Regions from separate parts of the Homo sapiens genome. Here region 2 is linked to region 1. Evidence: promoter capture Hi-C in 16 types of primary human blood cells and fetal thymus (Javierre and others, 2016). All regions are on one chromosome and are shown on one strand. Each heading gives the region's core, a stretch centred on a gene start or on the middle of the fragment in contact. The rest is flanking DNA. Distances are from core to core; before and after follow the strand shown. Region 1 holds the start of PAWR (pro-apoptotic WT1 regulator). Region 2 overlaps NAV3 (neuron navigator 3).

The links. Contacts are between HindIII fragments. The CHiCAGO score rates a contact against its expected background, and 5 or more counts as called.
Region 2: a fragment that was not itself captured here is called in contact with the fragment with the promoter of PAWR in region 1 in 1 of 17 cell types (total B cells); the score reaches 5.1 in total B cells.

What each region holds. Positions count from the first base shown.
Region 1 is chr12:79,688,614-79,693,700 of GRCh38, forward strand. PAWR (pro-apoptotic WT1 regulator) reads right to left here and starts at 2,351. Exons shown (of 7, transcript NM_002583.4): 1 at 2,259-2,351; 2 at 1,116-1,778. The coding sequence starts at 1,631. PPP1R12A-AS2 (PPP1R12A antisense RNA 2) reads left to right here and starts at 1,419. Exons shown (of 7, transcript NR_187531.1): 1 at 1,419-1,783. RefSeq lists silencers at 1,059-1,578, 2,349-2,648. The HindIII fragment of the contact is 6,027 bases long and covers 1-3,693 here.
Region 2 is chr12:78,006,776-78,011,862 of GRCh38, forward strand. NAV3 (neuron navigator 3) reads left to right here. Exons shown (of 40, transcript NM_001024383.2): 8 at 1-670. Among named protein-coding and RNA genes, the nearest start is that of NAV3, 180 kb to the left of the region's middle. The HindIII fragment of the contact is 1,778 bases long and covers 533-2,310 here.

The DNA.
Region 1 (5,087 bases), core at 1,101-3,600:
TCATATAAATACGTCCTACAAAGACACACTATGATTTAACAGGTATGGAAATCATAATACTAAAAATTTAGGTATATTTAATATACACCCTAACTTATTGCAAATGCTTCTACTTAAACCACAATTAAAGTTGAGTAAAATTAGAAAGCCAGGAGAAGAAAAAGTGAAAGCTAAACAGTCAATGAGAAAAAGATGCAACTATTTTAGGTGAAACAAGGTAGTTGAACCACTTCCTCAAATCCATGAGCTACTATCAAAGTAATCAAAACTTGTTTGAGATTGTTTTGTCTTGTTTCTGGTAGAGGGAGGTGTGATTATACACTTAGTAAAAATGTTTTACCAGTCACTCTAATGGAAGATGCTGCTACCTGTAACGTTTCGAAAATGCTCCAAACTGCAAACAACCCAAAACAAACAAAAACCCTACCACATGTTTTTCAGACACAGTACTCAAAAAGAGATCGTCTTAGCGAACAGAATTGTGGGTTACTAAATCATCCCTATTGTCCTAAGTATCACTCAGAAAAACACTGTGTGTTTAGGAGCACAACTTATAAACAGCTGATTTATATATAAAATAGTGCACGTATTCATTTGGATATACTCATCTTGAGCTCACTGTAAGATAAAGCTGTCTTGGATATTGCTAAGGCAACATTTTCTTTACAGATGTTATTAAACATTGGTAAGAAAGGAGAAATAAACTGGTAACTTCACATGGGCACGTGAGACCCTAGAGAATGTCGTCACCATTAATCAATTTTTCTAACTGATCAAGCATAAACAGCCAAGTCCAGGTGGCCAAGTCAGCCAAGTCCAGGTGGGCAAGTCCTGGAGCCATAAGTTGTCTTTCTACCACGGTAAAAAAGGATCCTGGATCTGAGACCTGGCCAGGAAGCCTGAAAAGCACGTGTCCTACTCTGAGTTTGGGGAACTTCCCAGGAAGCATTTGTTCAGAGTAAAACTCCATCACCCCCTGCCTGCCTAACTCGGTGAAGGGACAAGTACGAGCCAGGGGAGGTAAACTCTGCGCCCCGGGTAGCTCCCAGGAGGAAGACACCGGGAGGCAGCTGCCCGCCCCGGCCCGGTCCGGCTGCGGCCCCCGCCCGGCTCACCTCTGCGGCAGGGATGTTGACCACGCCGGTGGAGCGCCGCTTCTCCCGCAGCTTCCTCTTCTCGATCTGCCCCTTGCCTTTCCTGGCACTGGGGCCCGAGCTCTTGCCCTTCTCTGGGACGCCGTCCGGCTCCTCCTCGTCACGCTGGGGCGGCGGTGCAGCCGAGGCAGAGGCGGCTGGGGGCTCGTCCTCCGACCGCCGCGGGCCGGGGGCCGCCCGCGTCAGCATGGCGGAGCCGACCGCGCAGTTCACGCCCCCGGGACCGGGGACGGCAGGTGCGGCCGGCGCGCCGCCCGGGAGGTTGTTGTTGAGCTCGTTGGCAGCGGCGGCCGCCGGGGTGCCCAGAGCCCCCGCGGGGGGCTTCCCAGCGGCGTCGCTGCTGCCCCCTCCCGGGGGGGCCGGGCCCGGGGGGTTCTGCTTGGCGCGCATCTTCTCGCGTTTCGCCTTCCACTCCTCCAGGAAGTCTGTGGTGCTGCCGCCGAGGCCGCTGCTGGTCCGGTAGCCACCGGTCGCCATATTCCCAAAGGGGCCGGTCGGGCTCTCACCTCAGGCCGCCCACCAGGGCTCCGGCCGCTGCCTCCTCTTCCTTCCTGCGGCCCCGAGGATGCCAGGAGACGACCTCCAGGAGAGGGACGGCCGCCGCTCCCACAGCAGCCGGCGGGGCTGAGGTGAAAGACAAAAGGGGGCGGGTAAGGGAAGCGTAAGATCCCCGCCCGACCCAAGGGTCTGCCCCCGGGCTGCGCCCCTTGGAGTCCTCGAGCGCGCCCACCAGTCACTACCGGCCAGCAGCCGCCGGGTCCCCACCCTGCAAAGTTTCTCCCACGCACCTACAGTACGGACCCCGACGATCGCCGCCCCTAGAAGGGAGGAGAGAGGACTGACCCCACCCCCAAGTCGGCCCGCCCGCCCCATCCCCACCAAGGTCCGCGCCGGCGGCGGTCGAGATACTAGGGCTAGACCCGCCACCTGTCGGCTCGTCGTATCGCCTGCTCCGCGCTCTAGCCACCGCCGGTCCGAGGTCCCCGTCAGCTACAACCCCACTCCCAAGGCGAGGCGCGGAGCTCCTAGCCGGTTCGCAGAGGAGGCGGGGACCCAGCTGTCCCGCCGAGCGTGGAAAGGACCGGGTGTGAGCGAGCGCCTTACCTTGGAGGAGCTTGTAGGGGACGAGGCGTAGGGCTGGGATCCGGCTCCCAGGTGTGCCGAAGCTGGCGCGCGCTCTTCCGCCGCGCGGAAAGTGCCGCGGCAAACTCGCGGTGCGGAGCTCCAGGCAATCCCAGGACAGGAGGGAGGGAGAAGAAGGAGGGAGGGAGGGAGGGAGGGAGCCAGGGGCGGGAAGGGAGCCGAGCGGCGCCGAAGCACGAGCGGAAAAGGCCGAGGCGGCGCGCGAGGGGCGCGGCGCGCGGTGGGAAGGGTCGTGGCCGCTGACGCCCCGCCCCCGGCGCTCAGGTGCGCGGCGTCGCGTCCGGCCCGCCGCTGCAGCCTGCCCTGCGCCAGCCGTCCTCTGCCCCGCTCCCGCCGCAGACCACAGCGCGCCCGCCGCGCTCCGCCCGCGGCCTGCGAGTTAGACGGCACATTCCTGGGCTAGCAGCTTCGCGGCGTCCGGCCTCCCGGCGCCTCCGACTCCGGGGCGGGAACGGCACTCCACGCCCTTCTTGCTTGTCTTCTCCGCCTCTCTCTTCTCCCACCACTCTTCCTTTTAAGTACAAGACCGTATTATTTGAGAGAAAGTCTCGAACGCTGCTGGCTAAGGGGAAAAGTGCGATAACTTGTGATGATTCAGGGAATGACTAGACAGGATGGGAAAATACCCACGTGTCTCTTTTCCTAGTCGCTGCTCCCTTTTCAGATGTACTAGGGCAGCGGGCAGGAGAATAGAAAGACCTGAGACAAACCCAGCACCCTCCTTCTAAGAAAACTGCGGTGCCCTGGTGAAAAGGGTTGGCTAAGAGGAAGGACTTACTAGTATCTTAGGGTTGCGGGAGAAAAAACTCAGTTCGACAGTTTATTGTATTGGCGATTCCAGTCTTGGAGTTTTCCCCTTAACCCTGTCTCTGCCTCTCCTCTTTACAGAGAATGAATTTAGCAGCAAAGCTCCCTACCAAAGTACTAACGCTGCACTGATGCTAATTTGAGATGAGCTGGGGCAGTGATTGTCTCTATTTTTTCATTATTAACATGCCAGAGGCTTATCCTCTGATGCAAGTCATCTGAAATTTCTGGATCAGAGCGGGGTGGGCTGTCACTGACGCACCTAAGACTGACCTTTCTATATCCAAGTAATGTCAGGGCACATCATTGTGGGAGGCTACAAATGCCAGGTCTCCATTTTGTAAAAAAGTAGGAGAGCCCTAAGTCACGCTCTTACCTAACATAAACCTTTCTTCCTACTTAATATTCCTGTTTTGCCCAGGTAGCACATGATGAGTGAGCAATCAGTGTTTGCCTGCCACAGAACTGGGAACAGAAGAAAGTGATTCACATGCTCTATATTTCTCAGGGAAAGACAGTTTTGGTCTTTGGTCTGGCTGTTGTGGGAAACGTATGGCGAGAGCTCTGGAAAAATCCTTAGAAAATTAAAAGCTTTTGTTGGGAATAGGTCTAAAAGGCTGAGCGGCTGTTTACCTAAGCTAGTACCAACCCCAGTGTGCCACCTGAAGTTTCTCAATTACATATTCATTAGTTTGTTTTCTGAGTTTTAAGGAGAGTAAGGGAGGCTGGGACATTAAACGTATTCACATTCATATGCTTTGTAACTTATCAGAGGACTTTTCTCCTGGAAGGGCTGCAGGATATAGTGGAAAGAGGGTATAGTCAGCTAGCTGAGAGATCTTGGGCATGTTTACATTATCTGGTACTCAGCTTTCTGTACTATAAAATCAGCAAAAATTACATTTTTTTTTTTTTTGAGGCGGAGTCTCGCTCTGTCGCCAGGCTGGAGTGCAGTGGCGGGATCTCAGCTCACTGCAACCTCCGCCTCCTGAGTTCAAGCAATTCTCCTGCTCTCAGCCTCCCAATTACATTATATTTAAGCTGTCTTAAGAACTGACACTGCACATAAAATGTGCTTGATTCGAGGAAGGCACTCAGTAAACATAGTCCCTTCTAGGGGCTTAAAGTCCTTGGTCTCTAAGAAGTGTATGGGAGAAGAGGAAATTATAACAGATGGGGTATTGAATATACAATATCAGCCTAAAAACGATAGACTTTGAATGAACTAGGATAACACCCCACATAAATTTATCACTGCATGGCTTAGACCAGTTCTCTTAGTGTTAATAGGTTCTGAGTCAGGAATTTTGGCTGCTACTGACTTGTGTGGCTTTGGGCAAGTTGCTTAACTTTTGTGCCTCTGTTTACTTACATATAAAATGGGGATAATAATACTTCCTGCATCGTGAGAGTGTTGTGAAAGTGCCTGCAGTCCTTAGATAAAAGGTGGTATGTGAGTACCAGAGTAGGTATTATTAGTCTATAAAGTGCCCTAGGAACCATGGATGAAAGAGATTATTGAGGTACAAAGCTCTGTGTTTTGTTATTATTATCATTTATTATACCTTTTGTCTTTACCATTCTCAATATTCCCGAAGATATATTTCACAGCCAGACTGCTTCCAACATTGCACCGAGGTATTTAGCTGAGTCAGTCCTAAATTGCAAGATGTTTGCATATCATCAATCTTTATGTATAGCGTTCTGATGAAATAATCCTCAAAGACTTGGAGCTTGGTTTCTCAACCTCAGCACTGTTACATTTGGGGCTGGATAATTCTTTGCTGTCCTGCCCATTGTAGGTTGTTTAGCAGCATCGTTGGCTTCTACCTATTAGATACCAATAAGAAACCCCCACCTGTATTGTGACATTGCCACATGGTCCCTGGGATAAAATTCTTCCCCGGTTGAGCACCTCTGAGTTAGCCTAAAATAACCAATTTTTAGCGACTCACTTGCCCTTAATAATAAAATGAAATATGA
Region 2 (5,087 bases), core at 172-2,671, 1.7 Mb before region 1:
ATGATGATGCCTTTTCTGAATCTGGTGAAATGGAAGGTTTTAACAGTGGTCTGAATAGTGGTGGCTCAACAAATAGCAGTCCCAAAGTGTCACCTAAGTTGGCCCCTCCAAAAGCTGGAAGCAAAAATCTCAGCAATAAAAAGTCTTTGCTACAGCCAAAGGAAAAAGAAGAAAAGAACAGGGACAAAAATAAAGTTTGCACTGAAAAACCAGTCAAAGAAGAGAAGGATCAGGTGACAGAGATGGCTCCAAAAAAGACCTCCAAAATTGCAAGCTTGATCCCTAAGGGCAGCAAGACAACAGCAGCTAAGAAGGAAAGCTTAATTCCGTCTTCCAGTGGTATTCCAAAACCAGGCTCTAAAGTTCCAACAGTAAAGCAAACCATTTCACCTGGCAGCACAGCAAGCAAAGAGTCTGAGAAATTCAGGACTACCAAGGGGAGCCCTTCCCAGTCCTTATCTAAGCCTATAACCATGGAGAAAGCAAGTGCTTCTAGTTGTCCTGCCCCTTTGGAAGGAAGGGAAGCTGGCCAAGCTTCTCCTTCTGGTTCCTGTACCATGACAGTGGCACAAAGCAGTGGGCAGAGCACAGGAAATGGTGCTGTCCAACTCCCTCAACAGCAGCAACATAGCCACCCGAATACCGCGACAGTGGCACCATTCATTTACAGGTAAGGTGGCCTCTGTTTATCCACAGTTGTAAATATATTTACAGGCCTACATACTCAGAGTGTAATAGGGAAGGCTGATAAAGTGGTGCTTTATGTCGTCATTTTGGAGTAAAGTTTCATGCTAAAGATAGAGGCCTAGAATTCAGTGCGGAATCTTAGTCTGGAAAAAGACTTCCAGTAGGATCTAGTTTTATTCCCTCTCTCATTCCCTGTCAGCAATTGAGACCTTCAAAAATTGAATTACTTGTTATCAAAAGCCAGCTAGAAACCAGATGCCACAACTTTCTCTTGTGTTTATTCATATTATTGCTACTACTATACTGCTTCTATTACTAGCGGCAGACTTTTAAAATAATTCTCACTTTTACATCGTTTACGGTTATTTTTGTTGTCATCTTTGGGAGAAAGTATACCATAATGGTTAAAGAGGCAGCCTCTGAAATGATAAAGTTGCGGATTTCATTCCTAGTTCTGCCACTTTTCAGCTATAAGACATTGGGAAAGTTACTTAACATTCTTTAGTCTCATTTTCTTCAGCTGTCAAATAGGAACCATGCACTACTTTGTAGAGTTGAGACTATTAACAGAGGTCATGCATATAACATGTTTACTGTATATCCTGATGTGTTGCAAATGTTCTTCAAATGTTATTTATAAGATATTACTTTCTCAGTGTAAATTTTATATTAATTTCCCACAGCAAGGCATAGGTTTCTAGGTAAAAGGGGTTACATATATAATTTGTATTACTTATTTGGGTTGTATTACTGATTTGTTTTTTTTTTACCTTTTATTTATTTATTGTTTATTTTACTTTGCATTCTTATTTTGTAGGCATTGAAATACACAATATAAAATTTTTAAATGCATTATTATGCATTTTAAAATATGCATCCTACCATCCAAATGGTAAAGACAACACTTTGCTTGTTGTTCTGTGATTTGTTTTAATCGATTAGAGATATGTCAGTAACTGCTGTGTCCCCAGTTTATTCACTGCTTGGTTGGTAAGGAGATGGCCTGGGGAGCAATAATGTCTGCTTTGTCCCTCTTTCGGGCAGGTTGGCAATTTAACTACAGAAAGAAAATTTTATGAATAGGAAGCAGGACCCACTATAATTAAGAAAGGGTCAAAACTATATAGTTTAAAATTTTATTAAATTTTTTGAATGTAAAAGTTTTTAAAATAAAGCAGTTTATACTGATTTATTTTTTTGCTCAATGAGGAATGTAAGTGCTTTTTTTCTGAGGTTTTTTATACACTCAGCAAAACAAAATTATTATAATTATTACATTTAAGCTCTTGGGACATTACAATTGAATGTTGCTATTCTGACTTCAATAGTACTAACTCATTTAAAATACTTGTATTTGGATCAGATGGGAGTCTGCAGCTCCTTCTGACTCCAGGGTCCCTGTTTGACAAAGCAGAATTTAAGATGTCAAAATCATGATCCACATTTCAAAAACGTGAGAAAAAAAATCATGAAGTTTTAAATATGTCATACTCAGCACACTTTTGGATTACAAATATATTCTGTAAAAACATCAATCCTTTCAAAAAATCACAAGTGAATTTCATAGGAAAGTGTAAATCTAGAACTGCTAATTTAGTAGGCTTCTTTCTATAAGTAGCAACAAGCTTTTAAAAAAATTGTTTGCAATAAAATATCCAGTGGAAACAAATTTAGTGGTTTCCATTTGAAAATGTAACTTTTAAATATCAAAAACAGGAAGCAGCACAGCAGCACAGCTTAGAAGTTACAGTGTGGATCCGCTGTGTGAACCTGATGAGTTCTTTGAGAAACTCTTTGAGTTTCTGTTTGACCTCTTTAACAACAAGACTATAAAAGTGAGGCAGTGTAGCCAAGTAGCTAAGAAAAGAGGCATTAGAGAGGCTGAAGCAGGAGGAGAATCGCTTGAACCCAGGAGGTGGCAGAGGTTGCAGTGAGCTGAGATCGTGCATTTGCACTGCAGCCTGGGTAACAAGAGGGAAACTCAAAAAAAAAAAAAAAAAAAAAAAAAAGAGAAAAAAAGGGCGATAGAATATGTCTTACTCTACCATTGTTCAGAAACAGCATCTTGTGGTGGTGGTTGCCTAGGTGGGAATCTCAATGCCACCACTGATCAGTTGTGTTACTTTGGGTCATATATGTAAAGATTCTGACCCACAATTTCCTAATCTGTGAAATAGGTATGATAATTGTAGAAGCTACCTCATTAGCCTATTTTGAAGATTGAGTTGATATTTATCTGTAGAACAGTATCTGCCACATAGTAAACAGCCTTCCCTAAACTTCACTTTCTAATCCTATAAAGTATGATTGATAAAGGATGCCTACCTCGATTGATTGTATGAAAGATTAAAGAAAATAATCCCATGTAAAATTTTTAGCACACAGCCAGATTTTGAGCAAATTACATGAATATCAGTAATTATTTTTATTATTATCAACAATATAAGATAGCTAAAAATAAATGAAACTATGGTTGGCATGGTGGCTCATGCCTGTAATCCCAGCATTTTGGGAGGCCAAGGTGGGAGGATGACTTGAGGCCAGGACTTTGAGACCAGCCTGTACACCAGAGCAAGACCCTGTTTCTACAATAAATAAATAAATTAAAACTGTCTCATAAAATTTCACATTGAAGTCTATATATAAAGTAATATTCATTCAAAGTTTTTAAATCAATGCAGAACAATTTTACAAATAATATGTAAATCCTCAAAAGGCAGAGTGGTTAATATTCATTCTTTTCAGCTTTCAGTAAAAGCTTGTTTATAGAGTCATGACATTTGGATTATGTAACCTTTTATGTTCTTTCTGACTTTCACTGTTCTATCCCCATGTAAGAATCCCTCCTATAAAATCCCTGACAATTATTTTTGGAGTTGCTAATCATTTGATGAGATAAGACTAATAATTTACTTTTTGATGTTGGTATTATCATTTGTTGAGTGCTTACTTAGTGAAAATCTTTGTGTCACAAAATATATGTGAATTTTCTCATTTAAACTTCATCATGAACTCATGAGAAAAAATGTCATCCCCCATTTTCCAGAAATGAAGAAGCAGAGATATTAAGTCAGAATAGTAATAATCTCTTCAGATCATAAAGCTAGTAGAAATTTGCTTTGCTTATCAGTTCTATCTATGTGACAGAAATAAGAGGTATTGTTACTGAGAAAATTCTGGTTAGGAAAATGCCAATAGTACACTTGCAAAATTCTCAATCAGAACTCATTTATAATTGAAAATGGTAATTGCTGTTAATTAGTATAAATTATATAAATGTATACAGATACATATATATATGATATGTAAATATAATTAAATAACTTTTATATAATGGGAAGATTGATGGCTGATGGTGACTTTTTTTCTCAATTCTAGGTCAGTACTTATTCCTTCTGAGACTTCAATAAATGCTTCATAGTACTCTTTGTCACACACTGGGTGTTCAGAGTTCTATAAATATAATGTGGATTCTGGAAGTTAATAGATTTCCTATTAGCCTAACTTCCTATCTAATATAAATTATTCTGTACATAGTTTCAGTAATTCAATTATCTCTACAGAGTGATAAAGTAGTTTCAAATTTGCTGTTATTCTTATTCATTTATCAAATAGATATAACTAAGACAAAATGTCAAGAATTAAAGAAAATATTTTATTTTGGTTTAAGAAGTTCCTGATAACTAGAGCTACCTGAAATTGGAATAGGCTGCTTTTTATAGTGTTAAGATGGCCATCTGAAGTATTTAAAAAGTGGCAAAGTGACCAGTTATTACAGTTTAAGCAAAGGGAAATTGCTGCATACTTTTTCATTTATGTACTCATCCCTCATTCTACAAATACTGTGTAACAGAAGATACAAAGATTTTTTAAAAAAATCTCTGCCTTCTGGGAGCTCAGTCTACTAAGGGTAGTAAGAACAATATCATCAAAAATATTAAACCATTACTGTTATGGAAGTGTATGCAACATACACAATTAATGTAGAAAAAAAGAGGGTTTTTTACAAATCTGGCAAAATGGAGTAAACTAATGCATCACCAAGAAGTTAAGATAAGGGTAAGGCATAAAAGATGAGTTACAGTTTGTCACAAGGAGGTAAGAATGTTGTGCTATCATCCGAATTTGATATTCTACAATTTTATAATCCAGGCATGATGGGAAAAATAATAGGTAAATTGTGAGCTGCTATGCAAATACTAGTAACTGGAACTGCTATAGACACTAATGGTTAGGATTTGTAATTATATGAATGAGAGACTATATTAGTCAGTTTTCACACTGCTATAAAGAAATTCCTGAGACTGGATAATTTATAAAGAAAAGAGGTTTAATTGGCTCACAGTTTTGCATGGCTGGGGAGGCCTCAGGAAACTAACAATTAAGGTGGAAGACGAAGA